3 separate regions of the Homo sapiens genome follow, and regions 2 and 3 are each linked to region 1. Evidence: promoter capture Hi-C in human tissues and cell types (Jung and others, 2019). All regions are on one chromosome and are shown on one strand. The core of a region is centred on a gene start or on the middle of the fragment in contact, and the rest is flanking DNA. Distances in the headings are between cores, read along the strand shown. Region 1 holds the start of SIX2 (SIX homeobox 2). Region 2 overlaps SRBD1 (S1 RNA binding domain 1). Region 3 has its middle 81 kb from the start of LINC01121.

Region 1 (3,276 bases), core at 376-2,875:
CAAAACCAAAAGTTGAACCCAGGGCTCTAGACTCCCATTCCGCGCTCCTAGCACAAACTCCATAGAAAGCATAAAAGGGTGGGAAAGAAGGAACTGGCCTAGACTCGGGTTCCATAGCCCTAGACTGGCTGAGGGCAGAGCCCAGGATTTGTGCTGGCTTGGGTCAGGCACTGAGTATGGCCCTAGGAGCTCCTGGCCTGCAGCAGCTGAGGGGGGAAGAGGAGGAAACTGAAGGAAGTGGAAAGGACATGTCCGGGAAGGAGCTAAGCCCCGGGCTTTTCAAAACGTAGAGCAAGAACACACCCATCCTCAGTTCTCCCACCTTTGTGCGAGCCCTTCTCCCACAGGACCAGCACCACATGTTTCCATTGGCACCCTGACAAAGAAGCAAAAAACAGGACCCCCTTTTAAAGCACCTCATCCCGGAGCTCAGCGAGCCGGTTCCCAGGCTGGAGTGGCCAGGAGCCGAGCCGATCCCCAGCGGCGAAGCGGGAGGACTGGGAATCTTGCCTCCGTTCTCCTCCCCGACCACCCACCGGGGAAGCCCCACCACCGTCCTAGAGTCCCTGCCGTCGCCCCTCTCCCCCGCCCCGGTGGGCAGACTGCGGGTCTGCGCCGTCCGGGGTTCTGCGTCGCAGCTGCCGGCCGGAGTCAGCTTCCATAGAGGCCACACGGAACTGCCTGGCGCTCCTCGGGCTGTGGGACCCGTGGGGTTAAGTCTGAGTCCCCGCCCGGCGAGGAGCAGAGAGCGCAGAGTTGGGGCGGTACAGGCCGCCAGGCAGCCGGCGGGGCTAGGAGAGGGAGGAAAGGCGGGATCCTCCGGGAAGTCGATTCTCCGGCGTCCGCCTGCGGCCACTGCCAAATCTTCCCCATTTCTTTCGTCTACTCCCTCCCCTTTTCCCTCGAGGACCGCTGAGTCCAGAGTTTCTAGGATGGGGGTGGGGCGCTGTCAGCAGAAAAAGCCAAGTCTTTGGGCGGCACCCGAGCACGTCCAAACTCTCCCATCCCACTGGCCTGCGCCGGGGTAGAATGTGCCCGGTGAACAGAGAGCCTGGGAGGGACGCGGTGACCTGGGGAGAAGGGGAACCCTGTAGGGTCTGGGCGAGGCTGCAGAGCCCTCTCCTAGCCAAAGCTGCCCAAACTTTCTTCCCCTGGAGTCTCCTTCCACCCCTCTCCCTCCCCTTCCTCCTGGACACCCCCTTAAACGGTCTCCGCCTTCCCTTCTCTCCTCTTCTCTCCCCACCTCGATCCACCCCTTTTCGTCTTCGCCCGCTCCCCCCGCTCTCCTGTCCTCCTCCTCCCTCCCTCTTTGGGCATCCGCCCCGTCAATCTCCGCCGCCGCCGGCCCCAACCCGGCCCCTCTCCGCCTCCCAGGCTCTCAGAGCGCCCCAGGCTCCAGTAGAGCCGCCCTCAGTTCTGCGCGGAGCGGGGCGATCTGTCAGCGGAGCCGGCCGGGGGGAGCCGCCCGGCCCGCCGAGGCTCGGGTTACCAGTGACTGACAGCGTCTCCATGGCGAATAATTTGACTCCGACTATTGTCTGGCGCTGGCAGGCCCCGGGTCAGATAACCGGACCAATCAGGGCGCGGGCCGCCGCGCCTCATGCCCGCTTAGAATAATATTATTAAGAAAGCTGAGAGCCAGCTAGACGGGAGGGAGAACGAGTGAGAAGCGAGCGAGGGAACGGCGGGCGGGCGCGGAGCATGCGGAGCGGCGCCCCGGGCGGCCCCCGGGCTTGGGCGAGGGCTTGGGCCAGGCGCGCGGGCCGTTGGGGTTCGGAGCTTCGTGGGACCCGCGGCCGGCGCGGGGACGTACGGCAGTGACTCGGGGCTCACCGGGGGCCAGTGCCGGGCCAGGGGGCCAGCCCCGCCCGCGTCTCGGCCCGGACGGCCCGGCGAGGAAGCTCCCATGCGGGACCGCGCGGCCCGGTGAGGGCGCGCGCGGGCGGGCGGGGACGCAGCCGGCACCATGTCCATGCTGCCCACCTTCGGCTTCACGCAGGAGCAAGTGGCGTGCGTGTGCGAGGTGCTGCAGCAGGGCGGCAACATCGAGCGGCTGGGCCGCTTCCTGTGGTCGCTGCCCGCCTGCGAGCACCTTCACAAGAATGAAAGCGTGCTCAAGGCCAAGGCCGTGGTGGCCTTCCACCGCGGCAACTTCCGCGAGCTCTACAAGATCCTGGAGAGCCACCAGTTCTCGCCGCACAACCACGCCAAGCTGCAGCAGCTGTGGCTCAAGGCACACTACATCGAGGCGGAGAAGCTGCGCGGCCGACCCCTGGGCGCCGTGGGCAAATACCGCGTGCGCCGCAAATTCCCGCTGCCGCGCTCCATCTGGGACGGCGAGGAGACCAGCTACTGCTTCAAGGAAAAGAGTCGCAGCGTGCTGCGCGAGTGGTACGCGCACAACCCCTACCCTTCACCCCGCGAGAAGCGTGAGCTGGCGGAGGCCACGGGCCTCACCACCACACAGGTCAGCAACTGGTTCAAGAACCGGCGGCAGCGCGACCGGGCGGCCGAGGCCAAGGAAAGGTACGAGTAAGTAGACCTTCTTCGGCGCCAGCTCCCCGGGGCCCAAGGGAGGGGTTCGCAGGGCTTCTGCCGGTCCCCCGGAGAGGCCTAAACTGGGCCCCCAGGCCCGGCCACAGCCCAGCGGCAGCCCGGCCTGACTTGGACGATGCTTAGGCCTTTCTATGCCGGAGACCCGGCGAGCAGGGATTTGTCTAAAGCGGGCAGAGCAATTCAGGAAGTTGTCAACTAACTACTCGGTCGCTAGAGGAAAAGGGTGGAGAAGCAGAGAGCTTCGGGGCAGCGCAGAACTGTGGGCCTGTATCCCCTGTGAGGCAGGCACAGTAGGTCTGGTCATCCTCAGGACAGAGGGGTTTGAGCCCAGATGAAAGGGGATTTGCAGATTTCTTGCTGGTGGTGCTTCCCGGCATTTCCCCCCAGCCTTAGCTCCAGGCCAAAGTGTGATGGGGTCGGGACTGGGGCTGGAACTTCCCTAGAATGACCTGGATGGGGAAAAGCCAGGCCATGAATTTTCGTTGTCACATGGAGTTGAGAGCGGGTCCTTTATCTCCTTAGAAAGGATCCAGAGGTGAAAGGGAGGAAGTGTCAGTTCTGGGAGAGAAGAGACGCATGCCCTGTTTTCTGCCTTGCTAGAGATAGCCGCCCTTCCCTGGCACTCCAGGCCCTTGATGCCTCTCTCCTTAGGCCCTACCTCTGATGGGTAGGTCGGAATGTCTGCGGTGAGCTGAGAGGCACAGAGGGGCTGGGAGTTGG
Region 2 (3,276 bases), core at 501-3,000, 430 kb before region 1:
CCATTACTCATATTGTTGTTCCTCCATATATAACATGTACATTCTCTCTGGCTACTTTGACAATTTTCCCTTTATCTTTGTTTTCCAGCAGTTTGACCATAAAGTTTCTAGGTATAGTTTTCTTTGTTTTTGTCCTTCTTAGGGTTCACTGAGCTTCTTGCATCTTTACATTATGTTATGTTTTTGAAAAAATTGGGGAAAGTTTTGTTACTACTTCAAATATTTATCTGCCCTATTCTCTCTTTCCCTCTCAGGACTCCAGTTACATATAGTTGTGCATTGTGATCTTGTCCCACAGTTCATTAAGGTTCTTTTATACCCCCCATCCTCGCCTCTCCTTCTTTTTTTATTTCTGGTCTTCAGATAGGATAATTTCTGCATATCTCTCTTCGTGTTCACTGATTTATTTATTTTTCTACTCCAATCTGCTGTTAAGCCCATTCAATAATTTTATTTCAGATGCTGTATTTCTTTATTCTTTGTTTATTAAAGCTTTAATTCCTTTACTGCTGTTTACCATCTATTCATTGATTTGGGACCATATTTGCCTTTAAGTCCTGGAGCCACTTTAAAGTTCTTGTCTGCTGTTTCCAACATCTGGGTCATCCTAGTTTGGTTTCTGCTGGATAAGTTGACCCATTATTCTGTTATTGGTCACATGTGCCTGCATTTTTGTATGTCTAGCTAGTTTTATTACATGGTGGATATTGTGGATGCTCTGTGTTGTTGAAAATACAAATTTTGTTGTCTTCCTTTAAAGAGTATTGAATTTTCTTCTGGTAATCAGATAATTAACTCTCAGATCAGACTATCAGATCAGAATGAATCATATAGGGATTTTTTTCAAGACTTATTTTTAAAGCAGTTTTAGGTTCGCAACAGAGCAAAAACTACAGAGAGTTACCATATAAATCTTCCTGCCACATATGCACAGCCCCCTCCAGTCTCAACATTCTGCACCAGAATGGCACATTTGTTACAATTGATGAATGCATATCATTATCAGTCAAAGTTAATAGTTTACATTATGGTATAATGTTACACATTATGGGTTTAGACAAACAGATAATAACCTATATTCACTATTTATAGTATCATAAAGACACTAAATTTTAACAAAATCCATATCAATTATTTCTATTATGAATTGTGCCTTTATTGTTGTATCTAAAAAAGTCATTGCCATATCCAAGTTTAGTTAGATTTTCTCCTATGTTATTGCCTAGTTTTATGGTTTCATGTTTTACATTTAGGTCTATGATTCATTTTGATGTGAGTTTGTTTCATTTTTTGTCTTTGTTTTTGAGACAGAGTCTTAGTCTATCGCCCAGATTGTAGTGCAGTGGCACGATCTTGGTTCACTGCAACCTCCGCCTCCTGAGCTCAGGTGATCTTCCCATCTCAGGCTCCTGAGTAGCTGGGAATATCAACATGTACCACCATGTCTGTCTTATGATTCATTTTGATTTACTTTTGTTAAGGGTGTAAGATCTGTGTCTACATTCATTATTTTGCAAGTTGATGTCCAGTTGTTCCAGCACCACCTGTTGCAAAGATACCTTTTCTCCATTGTATTGCCTTTGCTCTTTTGTCAAAGATCAGTTGACTCTATGTATATGGGTCTTTTGGTGCTTTCTATTCCATTGATCTATTTGTCTTTTTTTTTTTTTTTTTAAACCAATACTGCAGTGTCTTGATTACTATGCTTAGTGTAGTATGTCTTAAAAGTTAGATAGTGTCAGTTCTTTGACTTCATTCTCTTTTAATACTGTGTTGGCTGTTCTGGGTCTAATTAGCTCTCTATATAAACTTTAGAATTTTAATTGGGATTGTGTTGAATCTATAGATGGGAAGAACTGACATCTTGACAGTATTGAGTCATCCTACCCACATACATGAAATATCTCTCCTCTTAGTTCTTTGATTTCTATCAATAGAGTATTGTAGTTTTCTTCTTATAGATCTTATACATATCTTATTAGATTTATACTTTAAGCTTTTGGAGGGTGCTAATGTAAATGTACTGTGTTTTTAATTTTAAATACCACTTATTTATTGCTGGCATATAGGAAAACAGTTTACTTTTGTATATTAACCTTGTGTCCTACAACCTTGCTGTGATCACGTATTAGTTCCAGGAGTTTTTTAATCAATTCTTTTGAATTTTCTACATAGACGATCATATTATCTGTGAACAAAGAGTTTTCTTTCTTTCCTCATGATAAGGTTAGGCCTTGTGTCCCCACCCAAATCTCATCATGAATTGTAATCATCAGGTCTTGAGGGAGAGACCTGGTGAGAGGTGATTGGATCATGGGGGTGGTTTCCCCTATGCTGTTCTCCTCATAGTGAGTAAATTCTAACAAGATCTGATGGTTTTATAAATGGTAGTTTTTCCTGCACTTAGACACACACTCTCTCTCACCTGCCACCATGTAAGTCATGCCTGCTTCCCCTTCTATCATGATTGTAAGTTTCCTGAGGCCTCCCCAGCCATGTGGAACTGTGAGTCAGTTAAACCTCTTTCCTTCATAAATTACCCAGTCATAGGAAGTTCTTTATAGCGGTGTGAAAATGGACTAATACACCTCACAATCTTATATAACTTTTCTTTTCTTACTGCATTAGGTGGTACTTCCAGTATGATGTTGAGTGGTGGTAAGAAGGGACATCCTTGTCTTGTTTCTGATCTTAGTGGGAAATATTCTGGTTTCTTACCATTAAATGTTATGTTAGCTGTAGGGTTTTTGTAGATGTTTTTAATCACCTTGAGGATGTTTCCCGTTTGTTCTTAGTTTATTGAGAATTTTTATCATGAATGAGTGTTAGTTAGATTTTGTCAAGTGCTTTTTCTGCAGCTAGGACTATGTGATTTTTTTTTTCTTTTTTAGCTTGTTGATGTGATAGATTCCATTAATTGATTTTTTGAATGTTGAACCAGACTTGCATACCTGAGATATATTATATTTGGCTATGGTGTATAATTCTTCTTATAGATTGTTAGACTTGATTTCCTAGCTTTTTTGAGAATTTTTGCATCTGTGTTCATGAGAAATACTGATCTGTCATTTTCTTGTAATGTCTTTGTCTGGTTTTGGAATTAAGGTTATGCTGGTTTCATAGAATTATTTAGGAAGTATTCCCTCCGCTTCTATTTTCTGGAAAAGATTATAGAGAATTGGTATAATTTCTTCCTTAAATGTTTGATAGAATTCATCAGTGAACCCATCTGAGTAAGGATTATTTTTTAAAATTTTGTTAGGGTGGGGGTAGTGT
Region 3 (3,276 bases), core at 537-3,036, 330 kb before region 1:
GCACACAGATAATGTAAGCTTGATTGCAGCTGGAGAGAGAATTACAGTAACATGAGGAGGGGATAAGCCAGGAGACCTGGCTTACAAACGGTCTTGCCCTGGCATTAACTTATGCTGGGTGCCTAATCTGTAAAATAGTGACATGAATACCTGCCTCACTTTCTCAAGCGGTTATGAAGTGCCATCCTGTGCCACACATCCGAGTCAAGCACGTAATAAAGGGAAAATATTTTCATTATCACTTAAACAAAAATGTTCCCAGCATGTCAATTGTACCCATTTGTTTAGAGTCTGGCTAATTAGAAATGATCCTGTTTCACTGGAGTAGACCAGGTGGGCAGCACATGATCAGCTCTTCCTCTGGGTTTTTACTGTAGAGGTAACATGGGGATGAGAGAACCTATTCTGCTTGTGGGGAGGGTTTGGGCCAGGCCTCTTCAAGCACCAACATCTGCCATTTAGTATCCTTAAAAGGGTTAACACAGGATTTCTTTTAAACACATTGAAGGATAACTTTTTGCTGCTCGTTAAGGCCCTTCCCTACTTGGTCCCGAGGAGTGACTTTCTGGCAGTATTCTCCGACATGCCTGTTCAGAGCACTGGCTTCACACTGTGGGCAGGGCAACCCAGTTCAAAGGCTGCCCTGAGGCTTGGAGGGATGGTTGACCACAGTGATACATCACAGTGGTGCCTCCTGGCAGGGCTGCTGCATGGAGGCTCAAAGGGCCTCTTCACCTTGGGGGTCTGGGTCAGGCAGTCGAGTGGCCACGCTGGCTGCTGATTCCTTCTGCCAAGGGGGTCCTTTAAGATTTAGTCTCTCTGTGGCCAATAAACTCATCTAACATCCAAGTCAGGACTGGGCCCCCTTCTGACCTATATATGACTGATGGCGGCCTAACTTTAGGGTCATAATTTGAAAAGAGACCCCCCCCAAAAATCAACTTTTGTGCTTTTTGAGTTCTTAAAATTTTTATTCCAGGAGAGGAAGTTAAACTCACAGGAACTCCCTCTTGAATGTCTAGGTTCTGGCCCCTGGACCACTCCATGTGGGGTTTGATGTTTGCTGAATAAAATCCTCATAACAACTAGTGTAGGGGTCCTCCAGCTTGCCCGCACATGAGAACCACCTGAGGTTCTATCCCAGACCAATTAGATCAGAACCTCTCGGGGCAGAGCCCAGGCCGTGGTATTTTAAAAAAGCTCCTCAGATGATTCAAATGTGCTGCTAAGGTTCCAGACCATTGAAGGGGGTAGGGTGGCTTCAGAGAATGCCGCCAAATGCCCTCATTGCCAAAGTGACAAGACTGAGCCCAGGGGAGGTGAAGTAACGTGTTCACTAGAAAGCACAGCTAGACAGAGGCACGCTGACCTCTGGAGTCCCAGTCTCTGAGGTGAGCCACCTTTGGAAGTGTTCTGTTGGTCCTGAATATGAGCTGAACTAGTGACTCTTATCCACGTAGCAGCAGCTATAGAAACAAAGGGCAAGCGCGCTCTAGGAAGTCTTTTAGTTCTATGAAGACTGTTGTGGTGTTTTCTCTCCTCTCTGGTGCTGTGGCTGAGCAGGGTGTCACCAGTGACCTGGGGAAGGATCCATGATACACTTAGAGGATTAGAGGCGACATGGGGGAGGGGGCGGGAGCCCTGATGACCGGCAGGATGGGGGGCTGGACATCACAGAGCTGGGAGTGAGAACACCCAGCTCTGTCTTCTCTTTCTGCTGTGGCTTTGCCATGTTCCCAGCCTCCTCCAGGTTTCCTTTTCCCAACTGCAAAAATAAGACTTCATTTACAGAATCTTAGGTTTACAAGGTGCTTCCAGAAGACGTGTGCTCTGGTCCTTGCAGCAGTGCTGTGAGGCAGAGGGAGCAGGAAGCTTCATCTCCATCTTATAGATGTAGCACAAACGTTGAGAAGCTTCACAGGCCTCACCATAGGGTGATAACATCTCAGAGCCCACTCCCATCCCATCCTCTAGCATTTTCTAGAAGTTTCCAAGACCTCATATGAGTTCTTAAACCAGTCTGTTGGTTTCAGACTCCAGGCACAACTCACCTATCCTTCCTGCCCAGCTTCTGGGACACAAGTCCTCACCCCTGCCCCTTGGCCCTCCCACATCCCCTGCAGTGTCAGTGCTGGGTGAGGGTCACTCGCCGGATGGTCCCAGGGTACGGAACTCCTTCTTGCCCAAAACCAGTGCTGCTCTTGGCCAGCCTGGCCTTGAGAGCTTTGCTTAGCAAGAGCCTCCTGAGCGTTCTCCCAGCTTCTGCTACTGACCCCGCTAGCCACCCAAGTCTAAGCAGTTTGATCATTCCTCCAAATTCCAATCTTCTCAACCCTTCATGCTCACCTTGACCTTCAGAGCTTCTGAGAGTTTGAACAGAGCCAATTGAGCCCCCCTGGTAAGTCTGGGGCACAGAATGGGGCTGGGGAGGGGCGTCAGCCACGCGAACAGAGCTGCCTGCCACTAAGGTCCTGTTACACAGAGGAGGAGACTGGGGCCCCACGTCACTGAGCCTGTGAGTGACCGGGTGAGAAAGGAAACCTCCACCTTCTGAACCCAGGCCAGTGCAGATGAGAGTCATACCCAGTCCAGGGAAAGGGAAAGCAGGCCTCCGAAAGAGCACATGCCAGTGCCTGGGGCTGATTCTGAAGGCCACCCTCTCCCCCAACGCCGGCCTTCAGGCCCAAGCACCCTGGGGCGCTCCCAGGCGCAGGTGGGCCATGGGCTGCCCGCATCCCCACCGCTAACAAAGGCCCCGCGCCCTGGCGGCCTCCCGAGGCCGGCGGCCTTTGAAGCGCACAGCCTGGATTATTTAATATAATGGAACAGTGCAACCTGACCCATCAGAGACATAAATTTCCAGGTGTTTTAAATTTGTTTTCCCCGTCAGAATGGTAAATGGCAGATAGTAAAATTCGGCACCAGGTCGTGGCTGTGGGTGCAGAGCTGGCCACAGGCTGAGCTCCTGCCACTCCAGGGTGGGCTTGGCGGCCTAGGCAGCCCAGGGTGCACCAGAGGTGGCCCCGTGTCCACGGACTACCCTGGACATGAGGCTCCGAAGCTCTGAAAAGGATCCTAGGCCAGGGCTGGGTGGGGATCCCGGGTCCTTAGTTTCAGAAGGAGTCTCAGGGTATCTAAGTCTTCTGGCCATGAGGGTCTCTCACCCTGACATCTGTGCAGAGAAACCAGCAGCCCCACGCCCCCTAGGTTAATTGAGGTGTGAGTGCCTGTAACACCCATAACGAGGTTTCTATTGCTCTTGCCAAGTTCCATTAT

The links. The method cuts DNA at HindIII sites, captures the fragments that hold promoters and counts their contacts. A contact is called where the count stands out against the background at its distance.
Region 2: a fragment that was not itself captured here is called in contact with the fragment with the promoter of SIX2 in region 1 in 1 of the 25 tissues and cell types used here (mesendoderm cells).
Region 3: a fragment that was not itself captured here is called in contact with the fragment with the promoter of SIX2 in region 1 in 1 of the 25 tissues and cell types used here (liver).

What each region holds. Positions count from the first base shown.
Region 1 is chr2:45,007,801-45,011,076 of GRCh38, reverse strand. It overlaps SIX2 (SIX homeobox 2), which reads left to right and starts at 1,625. Exons shown (of 2, transcript NM_016932.5): 1 at 1,625-2,526. The coding sequence starts at 1,967. RefSeq lists enhancers at 553-1,152, 2,157-2,930. The HindIII fragment of the contact is 8,583 bases long and covers 1-3,276 here.
Region 2 is chr2:45,435,756-45,439,031 of GRCh38, reverse strand. The region is part of intron 16 of SRBD1 (S1 RNA binding domain 1); the gene reads left to right. Among named protein-coding and RNA genes, the nearest start is that of SRBD1, 170 kb to the left of the region's middle. The HindIII fragment of the contact is 4,079 bases long and covers 1-3,276 here.
Region 3 is chr2:45,333,912-45,337,187 of GRCh38, reverse strand. No RefSeq gene overlaps it. Among named protein-coding and RNA genes, the nearest start is that of LINC01121, 81 kb to the right of the region's middle. The HindIII fragment of the contact is 3,880 bases long and covers 1-3,276 here.